Linked DNA regions of Homo sapiens: region 2 is linked to region 1. The links are contacts of gene promoters, found by promoter capture Hi-C in blood cells and fetal thymus (Javierre and others, 2016). All regions are on one chromosome and are shown on one strand. The core of a region is centred on a gene start or on the middle of the fragment in contact, and the rest is flanking DNA. Distances in the headings are between cores, read along the strand shown. Region 1 holds the start of ZNF260 (zinc finger protein 260). Region 2 holds the start of ZNF416 (zinc finger protein 416).

The links. The method cuts DNA at HindIII sites, captures the fragments that hold promoters and counts their contacts. A CHiCAGO score of 5 or more calls a contact.
Region 2: a contact is called between the fragment with the promoter of ZNF416 here and the fragment with the promoter of ZNF260 in region 1, in 4 of 17 cell types (non-activated CD4 T cells, naive CD4 T cells, total CD4 T cells and 1 more). The highest score is 7.9, in non-activated CD4 T cells.

What each region holds. Positions count from the first base shown.
Region 1 is chr19:36,526,111-36,532,161 of GRCh38, forward strand. It overlaps ZNF260 (zinc finger protein 260), which reads right to left and starts at 2,161. Exons shown (of 3, transcript NM_001166037.2): 1 at 2,109-2,161. RefSeq lists enhancers at 1,458-2,168, 1,909-2,538, 2,169-2,877, 2,689-2,888. The HindIII fragment of the contact is 4,591 bases long and covers 629-5,219 here.
Region 2 is chr19:57,575,445-57,580,803 of GRCh38, forward strand. It overlaps ZNF416 (zinc finger protein 416), which reads right to left and starts at 3,467. Exons shown (of 4, transcript NM_017879.3): 1 at 3,228-3,467; 2 at 2,613-2,654; 3 at 360-486. The coding sequence starts at 3,260. RefSeq lists a silencer at 3,157-3,376. The HindIII fragment of the contact is 6,514 bases long and covers 1-3,790 here.

The sequences.
Region 1 (6,051 bases), core at 911-3,410:
ATATTTTACTTAGATTAACTAGGAGAAGTTAAATATAGTAAGTGTCCTATAATAATAATCTTCCCTTGATATCACAGGAGATTGGTTCCAGGATCACTGTGGATACCAAAATCTGCAGATGCTCAAGTCCCTTATACTTCAAATATAAAGCCAGGCATGGTGGCTCACGCCTGTAATCCCAGCACTTTGGGAGGCTGAGGCAGGCTGACCACCTGAGGTCAGGAGTTCGAGACCAGGCTGGCCAAGATGGTGAAACCCTGTCTCTACTAAAAATAAAAAAATTAGCTGGGCATGGTGGCACACACCTGTACCTCAGCTACTTGGGAGGCTGAGGCAGGAGAATCGCTTGAACCCAGGAGGCAGAGGTGGCAGTGAGCCGAGATTGCACCACTGCACTCCAGTCTGGGTGACAGAGTGAGACTCCATCTCAAAAAAATAAAAATAAAGTGAATGGAAGTATATTTACATATAACCTATGCACATCCTCCCATATACTTTAAAATTATCTCCAGATTACTTATCATACGTAATACAACGTAAATGTCTGGTAAATAGTTGTTATACTGTATTGTTTAGGGAATCATGACAAGAAAAAAAAATCTGTACACGTACAGATACAACCATCGCAAGCTTAACAACAGTTATGATTCATGTTTGTTGAATCCGTGGAAGCAGAGCCTACAGACACAGAGGGCTGACTGTTCATTCACTGATTCAGCAAACATATACATTTATGATTATGTGTGCTGAGAAACCTTGGTTTACAATTTGTAATGGGATATAACAAATCAAAGGATCAAACTTACTTAGAAGCCTTCTCTAAGATGTAAGTGCCTTAGAACCTGGCTAGACAGTGCTATAAATTGCTGAAACAGGTACAGAGGGGAAATAGATGGAGGCAGACTGCAGGAAGAAGGAGCCCTTTAGACATAAAGAGCTTGAAGTTCCCTGTAACTTCCAGGTGGACTGCACATTGGGCAATTAGATAATATGGATTAGGAGCTCAGGACAAGCCTCCAGCAGAAACAGACATTTATTAGTCATCTGTATTAGATGAAGCCATGGATGGCAGTGTAATGTTGTTGCTGATAGGAGTACTTAGATGATCAAGGCCAGAAACTTAGAAACACCAATAGTTAGGGGAAAAGCAGAAACTAAGTCCTGTCTTCTTTGTATCTTTTACTTTTTCTGTATATTTCAAAACTATTAACCCTGTTACTTTTTTATTTTATTGAAAAATATGTTAAGAATAAGTGTGACAAGATACTTGAATATGTTGATATGTTAAGAATAAGTGTGACAAGATACTTGAAGATAGGATACTTCTATCTTTGTATACACAAGAAAAGAATTTCCCCTATATTTACAAAAGGCTGGGGAAACCCTGATTAAATTAGGAGTGAGATTGCTGCCCTCACTGACGAACTAGGGAGTTTCTTGACCTCTGCGCTAAAGGCAGGACAAGTAGCTTCCAAATTCTGTGCCGTCTGCGCTATTGGAAACTACCTCTTAAAGATATTCCTTAGTTCAGGGTTTCTCCAAGCAACTGCACCAAAGTTTCTCCAAAGTATTAAGAAAAGTCAATGCCTACTGGGTGTACAGGCACCCAGTAACAAGTTTTTCCGAAATCTTGCCTCTTTAAAAAAATAATGGAAAGGTAATGCTGATTTTGTTTTCTACTCCACAATAGGTCTGCTTTTATATAAAAAATCACCTTTAAAATTACTTATCCGCTCAATTCCTTAGCCTTTTCCGTTTCCTATTTTCCAGAAAACGCATCTTTATTATTTTAGAAATGAGAAAAGTGAGGCTTAGAGGTTACTACCTCACAAAGCCATCCGTCCATCCTCACAAACTTGGAACCAGTTTCTCACTAACTCTGCACCCTCAACACCCCCTCACACTCTCGGTCACCCACCCGCGAACCCACCCGAACTGTACCCCTGCCCCCAGCCACACAAGCTCGGATCACCGCACATCATAGAAGGCGATTCCTCCCCTCCATACTCCCAGCCCCGTCGCAGGCACTGCAAATCCTCCCCTCCAGCGTCCCTGGCCCGTTTCAGTGTCCAGAAACCCAAGTCCCACAGGGCCGAAACCCAACTCACCGGCAGACAAAGACGACCATGGCAAGTCGGAGATTCCGCGCCTGCGCACTCCTTCCGCGGGCAGCGCTCCCAGAGGTCTCCTGGGCTGGGCCAGGCCCCGACTCAGAACCGGACGGAATCGAGAGATCTTGGCCCGTCCTCCGTGCCACTCTTTTGAGGGTAGACTACATTTCCCAGAAGGTTCAGCGGTTTGAGTCAGCTTTTCGCGCGAACTTTTCCTCCGCCAGAGCTTGTGGGACTGTCTCCCTGGCCGGGGCAGGGGTGTAAGGCCTTAGTCTTAGTTTACTCTATCCCTGGGATTGGGTAGTGGTGTAACATCAGCTTAAACACGCTGTGCTGACTTTATGTAACAGCCACGGTGCGATACTAAGCCAGGAACCCCAGGAGACTCTCAGACACGGTTCGGGAATGAGGGTAATCCCTTTGGCTGGGCTCAAGCCGGGCGCCATCTTGCTCATCGCGGGCGTGGCGCTGAACTACATTTCCCAGAAGGCGCCGCGCCCTCGGCCCCTCCCCTCGCGACTCCCGCGGCTCGGGGGAGAGCTGCACGCGACCCAGGTGCTGGCCTCTGAGCGGGTCGGCTCGGAGACTACAGGATCAGGAGGAGGTTGGAGGTGAAGCGTCTGGAATCCGGTGCGGAGGTTGAGACTGAGTATTAAGTCTGTTCAGGCGGAACGCGCCGAGAAGGGCGGTTGTGAAATTGTGTTTTTGTGAATGTATGTCCTAGCACAGTGTGTGTGTGATTGTGATTGTGTGTGACACCTTGTGTACGGATGTGGGGAGGACTCTGCGGGTGTCCCGTGAGTCCCTGTGTTAGGACTGTTATTGTGTGACTGTGTAACGCTGTGTGAGGGTGTGGGTTAGCTGTGACTGTGTGCCCGCGGTGGGTGTGTGATTGTAACTCTGTGACCATATGTTCGTTTGTGTGCAGATATAGGGAGCTTTGTACTTATGTAGTTGTGACTCTGTGTCCTTGTGTGGGAGTATGGAGGGTGGGTGCTTGTGACTTTGTGTACAGTGGTGGGTGTGTGACTGTGAAGCATTGGGTGTGCGTGGAGTTGAGACTGTGTTTGTGTGTCTTTGACCAAATGTCACACATAGTCATATGTGAGAGCAGAAGACAGCTCGGCCCCGTGATAGTAAAGGGGATTTTTCTATGACACTGAGTTTTGAGTTGGAAGCCCCAGTTTCCTCTGATAGCCCTCCCATGGCGGGGGAGGGGAACGCAGAGTAAGCTCTGGCCTTGTCATTTGGGCCCTAGGGGAGGTGTATTGTCTCCCTTCTCATTTCTGTCCTCCAAGAGAGGTTCCCCAGAGGAGAGGAAATAACGGTTGTGATATCTAAAAGCCATGTTTAAGGTGCCTTGAAGTTTTCTCTTTGTTCCTGAAATGCTTTATTTTTCCAGGACCTGATTTTTTTTTTTTTTGAGATGGAGTCTCGCACTGTCGCCCGGGCTGGTGTGCAGTGGCGCGATCTCGGCTCACTGCAACCTCCGCCTCCCAGGTTCAAGCGATTCTCCTTCCTCAGCCTACCGAGTAGCTAGGATTACAGGTGCCGGCCACCACGCCCGGGTAATTTTTTTGTTGTTGTATTTTTAGTAGAGACGGGGCTTCACTATGTTGGCCTGGCTTGTCTTGAACTCCTAACCTTGTGAACCGTCCACCTCGGCCTCCCAAAGTGCTGGGATTACAGGCATGAGCCACTGCGCCCGGCTGATTTTTTTTTTCTTAGCAAATGCCTAAAAGGACTTATCAAGTAACCTGGAATCTTCTGTTACTCTTTGGAAAAATCTTCCTAATTTTGTCTTATTAATATAGCAAATGGTTCAGTTTATCATGTATGCTTAGTTTGGTTTTACCTATATACATATGTAGATATATATGCATATACATAAATATACATACACATATTTGTATATGCACATATTGAAATGTATCTCATGTTTTAAGTGATATTTTAACTTCCTACATAATTGAAAGCTATTTGAGAATATATTAAATTGTAGATACTGTTAATTGTTTTGCCACATATGTGGCTAACCCAATATCCATTCCCTTCTTTATTGCTATAAAAGTCCTGATCTTGTTTGCTCTGCTTAAAGAAAAACAAACAGAAAACAAACAAAAAACCCAAACTCTACGTGTTCTAGCTTCTCCTGTTGATGTAAGTTAAAGTTCTTAGATTGGGCTTCTCAGACAGTTTTTTTTTTTTTGAAATGGAGTCTTCACTCAGTCACCCAAGTTGGAGTGCAGTAGCGTGATCTCAGCTCACTGCAACCTTCACCTCCCGGGTTCAAGCGGTTCTCCTGCCTCAGGCTCCTGAGTAGCTGGGATTACAGGCGACTGCCACCATGCCCGGCTAATTTTTGTGTTTTTAGTAGAGATGAGGTTTCCACCATGTTGGCCAGGCTGGTCTCGAACTCCTGACCTCAGGTGATCTGCCTGCCTAGGCCTCCCAAAGTGCTGGGATTACAGGCATGAGCTACTGCACCTGGCCACTCAGGCAGTTCTTTAAAGGTATGGGGATGGGGTGGGGCAGGCTCAGTGTGCATACATTCTTTTTCCCCTTTCTGTCTGGAATGTGGATATTGTGCTACATGCAGAGCAGCTATCTCATAACCATGCATTTTTTTTTTTTTTTTTTTGAGACAGAAACTTGCTCTGTTGCCCAGTCTGGAGTGCGGTGGCGCAATCTCAGCTCACTGCAACCTCTGCCTATTGAGTTCAAGTGATGCTCCTGCCTCAGCCTCCTGAGTAGCTGGGACTACAGGCGTGCACCACCATGCCTGGCTAATTTTTGTATTTTTAGAAGAGATGGGGTTTCACCATGTTGGCCAGGCTGGTCTCAAACTCCTGACCTCAGGTGATCCGTCTGCCTCGGCCTCCCAAAGTGCTGGGATTACAGGTGTGAGCCACCATGCCCGGCCATAACCATGCATTTATAATGGAAGGAAGGAGATGAGAGTTTACAATGTCATATTAAATGAAAATAGAGGATTTTAAGTTATATATGTTGTGTGAAAGCAATTTGATTAGAAGATATGTATATTCTACCTATCTATGCATGAAATGTGTAGTTGCACTTTAATTTTCTTCATTGTAACTAGACTCAAGCTTGTGAAAGAAGGGACTTGTCTTTTTGTTTAGTTGTTCCATCTTCACCATTTACAATGGCTAGCACATAGTTGGCTCTCAGTAAATATTTGATTAATGAAAGAATAGTAAGTAGTTAATAAATGATAGCAGTGCTACTTAGTTTCTTTTTGGTTGCACAGAGGAAACATGCCCAGATTGCCTTAGGTTTCTGTTACTCTCTGAGATTACTCTGTGTTAACTCTACCTCTGGGGTAGTGAAGAGGTATGCCAAGGGGTGTTATAAGCCAACATTCTTCAGACTGGGTATAAGTTCTTCATCATCCATAGGACTTTTGATGTTGGGCGAAAGATATTCACTGCTTTGATTATTTATTGTTTTCTTTGATTATTTATTAAGTTTCTGTAAAGCATAAAATATAACCAATTTTTCTCACATTTAAACTTGATTATTAATTTTGATTAATATATATTTCTTTTTTTTTTTTTTTTTTTTTTGAGACAGAGTCTTGCTCTGTTGCCCATGCTGGAGTGTAGTGGCACACTCTCGGCTCACTGCAACTTCCACCTCCTGGGTGCAAGCGAGTCTCCTGCCTTAGCCTCCTGAGTAGCTGGGATTACAGGTGCACACCACCACGCCTGGCTAATTTTTTGTATTTTTAGTAGAGACGGAGTTTCACCATGTTGGCCAGGCTGGTCTCGAACTCCTGACCTCAAGCAATCCGCCCACCTTGGCCTCCCAAAGGGCTGGGATTACAGGAATGAGCCACCGCACCCAGCCAATTCTTTTTTTTTTTTTTTTTTTTTGAGACGGAGTCTCACTCTGTCGTCCAGGCTGGCGTGCAGTGGCA
Region 2 (5,359 bases), core at 2,217-4,716, about 21 Mb after region 1:
ATGAGGAAAATTCTGCAAATTCCTAACACAGGTAGTCAAAGGAAATGTCATCTAGGAGGCAGAATTTGAGACACAAAGTACCATGAATATGGACACAGCCACCCAAAGAGGAAGTGAAGAAGTAAACGGAGATGCATTAGGCTGACTCAAGACACCTAACAGCCAGACCCATCCCTGTGCATTTTGGGACAGCAAATGTCAGGGCTGATTAAGGAGTGCAATGATTTCATTCCTTACACCACAGCACATACGCCAAGACAGTGGGGAAGTCAGCAAAGCCCACGGTCCGGCAGAGCTGCCTCTGAGGAAAAAGAGGATAGACGAAGACCAGGACACGAGAGTGGGTGTGAGGGCCTTACCCAGCGCAGTTATAAGTGCAAAGTTCTCCAGCATCACATCGCGGTACAGGAGCCTCTGAGCCTCATCAAGGAGCCCCCATTCTTCCTGGGAGAAGTAAATGGCCACGTCCTCAAAGGTCACACAGCCCTGCCATGATGGGGATAGATCTTTCCATGATCAGATTCTCTCCTAGGACCCCAAGTTCATGCCCCCCACACATCCTTTCCCTGCTTATCCCCATACCTAAGCCCCACCTCAGAGGAGATACCAAGACCTGGTGGCACTGATTCCTGCCCTCTCCTCATGGTCCCATCATCACTGTGTCTTCCCACAGCACCAACAGGCAGGTGGGCCAGGAAATGCCATTTTAAACTCTGGGTCTAGCATATAGGGCTGGATTTTGTCTTGTCAGACAGTTCTCCTGGGGTTTCCAAAATTATGCCACTCACATACAAACAATGATGAGGTTTGCCATCATTCTTATATCCTCAATGCCATGGCCATGGGTTGTTCAGTTCACACTTCCTCTCCATATGCACATCACTCTTTGAAGCACACACTCTCTCAAACAATCTCACTCCCACGGCTATTTCCACCCTGTTGCCCCACACCATAGGCATCTCTCTGGCATCCCCACGATAGTTGGAATGCAACATTCAGAAAGTGCTTGGCAAACTGAAATGAGGTCCGGTGCCACTCAGGCTGAATGGTCCCCACTGCCAAAGGCAGCCCTTCAGAGACCCTGCTCTGAAGGCCTCCCTGCCTGACTCTGTCCCTTTCTACATCCTCAGTCACCCAGAAATACCTGGGGATCTGACACCGATGGCCCTCTTGCACTAGCGCTGCACTTGATGTCCTCTCTTAAGTCACAGCCTTCCTCTCCTGCTAACCCTCATTCAAAGTCTGCCCCAGGGGACCCCCACACCTCAGGCCCAATAACTCCCAGATGACCACCTGTGCCCCTCAACTTATCCACCTCCCTGAAATTCCTGACACCTCAAGGGTTGCCACAAAACCCTGGTAGATATATCCAGAGTGCTGAGTAAGCACTAGTTCTGGTCTCAGTGTCATCTTGTCTCAATTACTTCCAAGCATTGATCTCATGCCCACTCTTCTCCTAGATCCTTGGCCACTTGCCAGATCATCCTTGCTCTCACACCCTACCATAGCCACCTCTCTCCCATACCTGTCTTTGTGATTCCCACCATGACCAACCATGTCCCCAAGCAGGAGAGCCAGTAGTGACCCCCAACCTTCCTTCCCTGGGCTGGTAATAGCATTACCAAAGTGATCACGATTCCACCTCCTAATTGTGTCCCAAGCTATACCCCTAGGCAAGTAGTGGCCACCACCTTTTAAATGTCTCTATCCTGAATCCCTCAACACAGTTCTAGTCCTGTAGGATAAACTATCCACTTCATGTCTAAACTAACTGTTCTTTGAAACATCTCAGACTCTAAAAGATGTCCCATTGGGCCATGTTCAGATGATTTTTATTAAAAAATTTTAAAAATAAAGATGGTCCATATCAAAATTTCTGATTATCTCTAGAGATAACTGACTCTACTACCAACTTTACAATCCTCGCTAGTGGAGCTTCCATATTTCCAGCTGCTAAACCCAAACACCTTGCTTTTACCCCTAAATCCTACTTTTCTATCTCAAAATCCAGGCTTCCCTACTTAAAAAAACTGATCTAAAATCCAACTACCACCTCCACAGCCACCACACAAGTCCAGCCACCAGTAACACTCACCTGGACTACTGCAGCAGCCTTCTTCACTATCTTCCTATCTCATACCTCACACTCAGCCTGTTCTCTCAGCTTGGCCACACACAGGGAACCTGATGAGACCTGGATCAGATCACATACCTCCTCTGCCCCCAAACTGTCATTGCTCATCACACACTCCAGAAGAAACACCCGACAACTGACAGCCATTTTTTGTCTGATTCCTGCATCCCAGCTTTCAGTTCCCATGAGAAAGAAAACAGCTGTAGTTTCCTAAACCAGCTCAGCCTGACCTTCAAGCACTTGCTCATCTGGTATCTAAGCCTGAGACAACGTTCCACACCTTACTTTACTGGTTCCCAGCAATAGGAACCATTCTATACCAGCTTCCAGCCTGGATGTATGACCCTGGGACTGATGTTTGTTCAGGATTCCTAGAACCAAGGACCCAAAGAGTGCCAAGAGAAGAGTCCCAGAACACAATCTCAGAGACAAACACTGGGGTCAGCATCAGTGAGGGCCCGAAACACTCTCCACTCACCTGTGTAAAGCCCATAAGTTTAGCTTCTGCAGTCACGGGAACCTGCGGGAAGAGGAAGGCTATGAGAGGCAGGTAACTATGGTGGAAGCTCCATGGGCTGATGCCTCCTTGTTTCCCTGCGCAGCCCTGGAGCCAGGTGACTTGGTGATGACTAAATTATTATTGCTCCTCAGTTCCGTGTGACTCTTACCTGCTGTGGGACCTTGCACAAGGACTCAACTTCCCTGTGCCTCGGTGTTATCCCCCTTCCAGGCTGTTCCAACTCTGAGTAACTTTAGAAAAAATTTGAAAAGTCTAACTCAGACCATGTGCCTCGTCTGTTCACAACCACCCATGGCTCTCAGCGTCTTGAAAAGAAAGAGCCTCATTTTACCATTCGGGCGTGAACGTTACTGGCTCAATCGTCCCAGCAAGATTCACAGAAACCGGCCCCTCCGCCTGCCACACCCTCCACAGCCCACGACACCAGGCTTGTAAATGGGAGCCCCACCCGCGAGGGCCTCATAGTCCTGGACTCTAGGGTCGGGCTGCAGGGACGCAAGCAGGCGCCCCTCATGCAGGGTGTTGGATTTCCGGCGGAGAGGGCAGGTGAGGCCCGGGAGACGCAGCACTCACCGAAGTCGAATCCCTAAGCACGGCCGCCGCCATCGGATTGTGAGCGGAGCGGGGCCGGGAGCGGCGGGCGACCCGGGGCGGGAACCCAGGCACGGCTGCCACCAGCGCCAGCGACCCACCGGCTGATGCGCAGCGGGGCGACCCCCGCTCTGTGCCGGAGGCAGCGTTTCTAACTCAGGCGGCGTGGGCCGAGGTAGAGAACCACCAAAATTACCATCTCGGAGCGGTGCCGGAAGTCCCGCCTTACCGTATGCAACAAACGGAGACAGGTCCGTTCCTGAACGTTGATTGGCTCCGCGTCTTTGCAGCTTGGCGCTCGGCATTATGGGTAATGTAGTTCTCAGAAGCCCAGGGTTCCGGTGCCCTCCCTGAGATTCACCCGGAACAAGGGCTAAGCGGCCCGCGGAGGGCGCTAGGAAAAGGCGCGACACCAAGAGCGAGACAGGGACTTGCTGCTCCTTAAAGGGGCCGCTGGCCGATTTCCGCAGTCCCATACCCACTGAAGGGAGTGTCTGGGTTAAGATAAGAGGTTGTAGAGACCAAGGTTCTTATTAAGCAGATGAAGCTTTCACGCAGCAGGCTTCAGAGGGAATAGATTGTAAATGTTTCCTATCAGACTTTGAAAGGTGCCAGACTCTTAATTCTTTCCTGGACCATGAAAATAAAAAAACCCTGGAGAGGAAAGGGGATTCTCAGCAAAATGCAGATTCCACAAGACACACCTTTGCAGGGCCTCTTCAAAATATGTCAAATAAATAAAGTTTAGAGTAAAATACTTCAATTCCTTTCAGGGCCTGCTATCTGTCATGTAATGCTATACTACAATCAGGCTGGAATTCACTGTCTTATTGCTACAAGAAGTCTTAAAATCTCTGTTTTAATGTTAATGCTGGTCAGTTGTGCCTGAATTCCAAGGGGAGGAGGGCAAGTCTGACCCTCACTTCCCATCACGTCCTGAACTAGTTTTTCAGATTAACTTTGGAATGCCCTTGGCCAAGAGGAAGGATGCATTCAGATGGTTGGGGGGCTGGGAATTTTATTTTTGGTTTACACTTCTCATGCCTCTTGGAATCTCTGAACCACATACAACGGCCATTTGTTGAGTAAAAGCTTCCAATGCAGGAAACTGTCTCTTTCAGCCTCATGCTATACACCATTAAAACAGTAATTACTGGCAATAAGACTGGGCTTTCTTAAACATACAGGATCTCACAGACCATAAGCCTATGATCCTTCATACCAGCTGCCCATAATACTTTTGGTTTTGGAAGCAGCACCCCATAACCTCAGCATGGCTACCAAGGCCTCCTTAAGACAGGGTAGAATGAATAAGATCTAGTATTTGATAGCACAGTAGAGAGACTACAGTCAACAGTAATTTATTGTACATTAAAAACAACTAAAAGAGTATTATAACTAGAATGTTTGTAACACAAAGAAATGATAAATGCTTGTGTACCCTGATATGATTATTACACATTGTATGCCTGTATCACAATATCTCACGTATCCCATAAATATACATACATACTATGTACTCATAAAACTAAAAATTTTAAAAGACAGATAAATGGCAAGCAGGTAGATGAAAACATGCTTAACATCATTGATCACTATAAAAATGCAAATCAAAACTACAATGAGATATCATCTCACTCTAGTTAAAATGACTTTTATGCAAAAGACAGGGAATAATGAATGCTGGCCAGGACAGAGAGGAAAGGGAAACTTCATACGCTGTTGGTGGGAGTGTAAATTAGTAAAGCCACTATGGGGAACAGTTTGGAGGTTCCCCACAGAAGTAAAAATAGAATTACCATATGATACAGTTTACACCACCCAGAAAAGAAATCAGTATATCTAATAGAGATCTGCACTCCCATGTTTATTGCATCACTATTCACAACAGCCAAGATTTGGAAGCTACCTAACTGTCCATAGATAAATGGATAAAGAAAATGTGATGCATATACACAATGGAGTAGTATTTAGCCATAAAAAAAGAATGAGATCCCATCAATTGCAAGAAGACGGGTGAAATTGGAGGAAATTATGTTAAGTAAAATAAGCCAGGCACAGAAAGACAAACTTCACATGTTCTCACTTATTTGTGGGAGCTAAAAATTTAAACA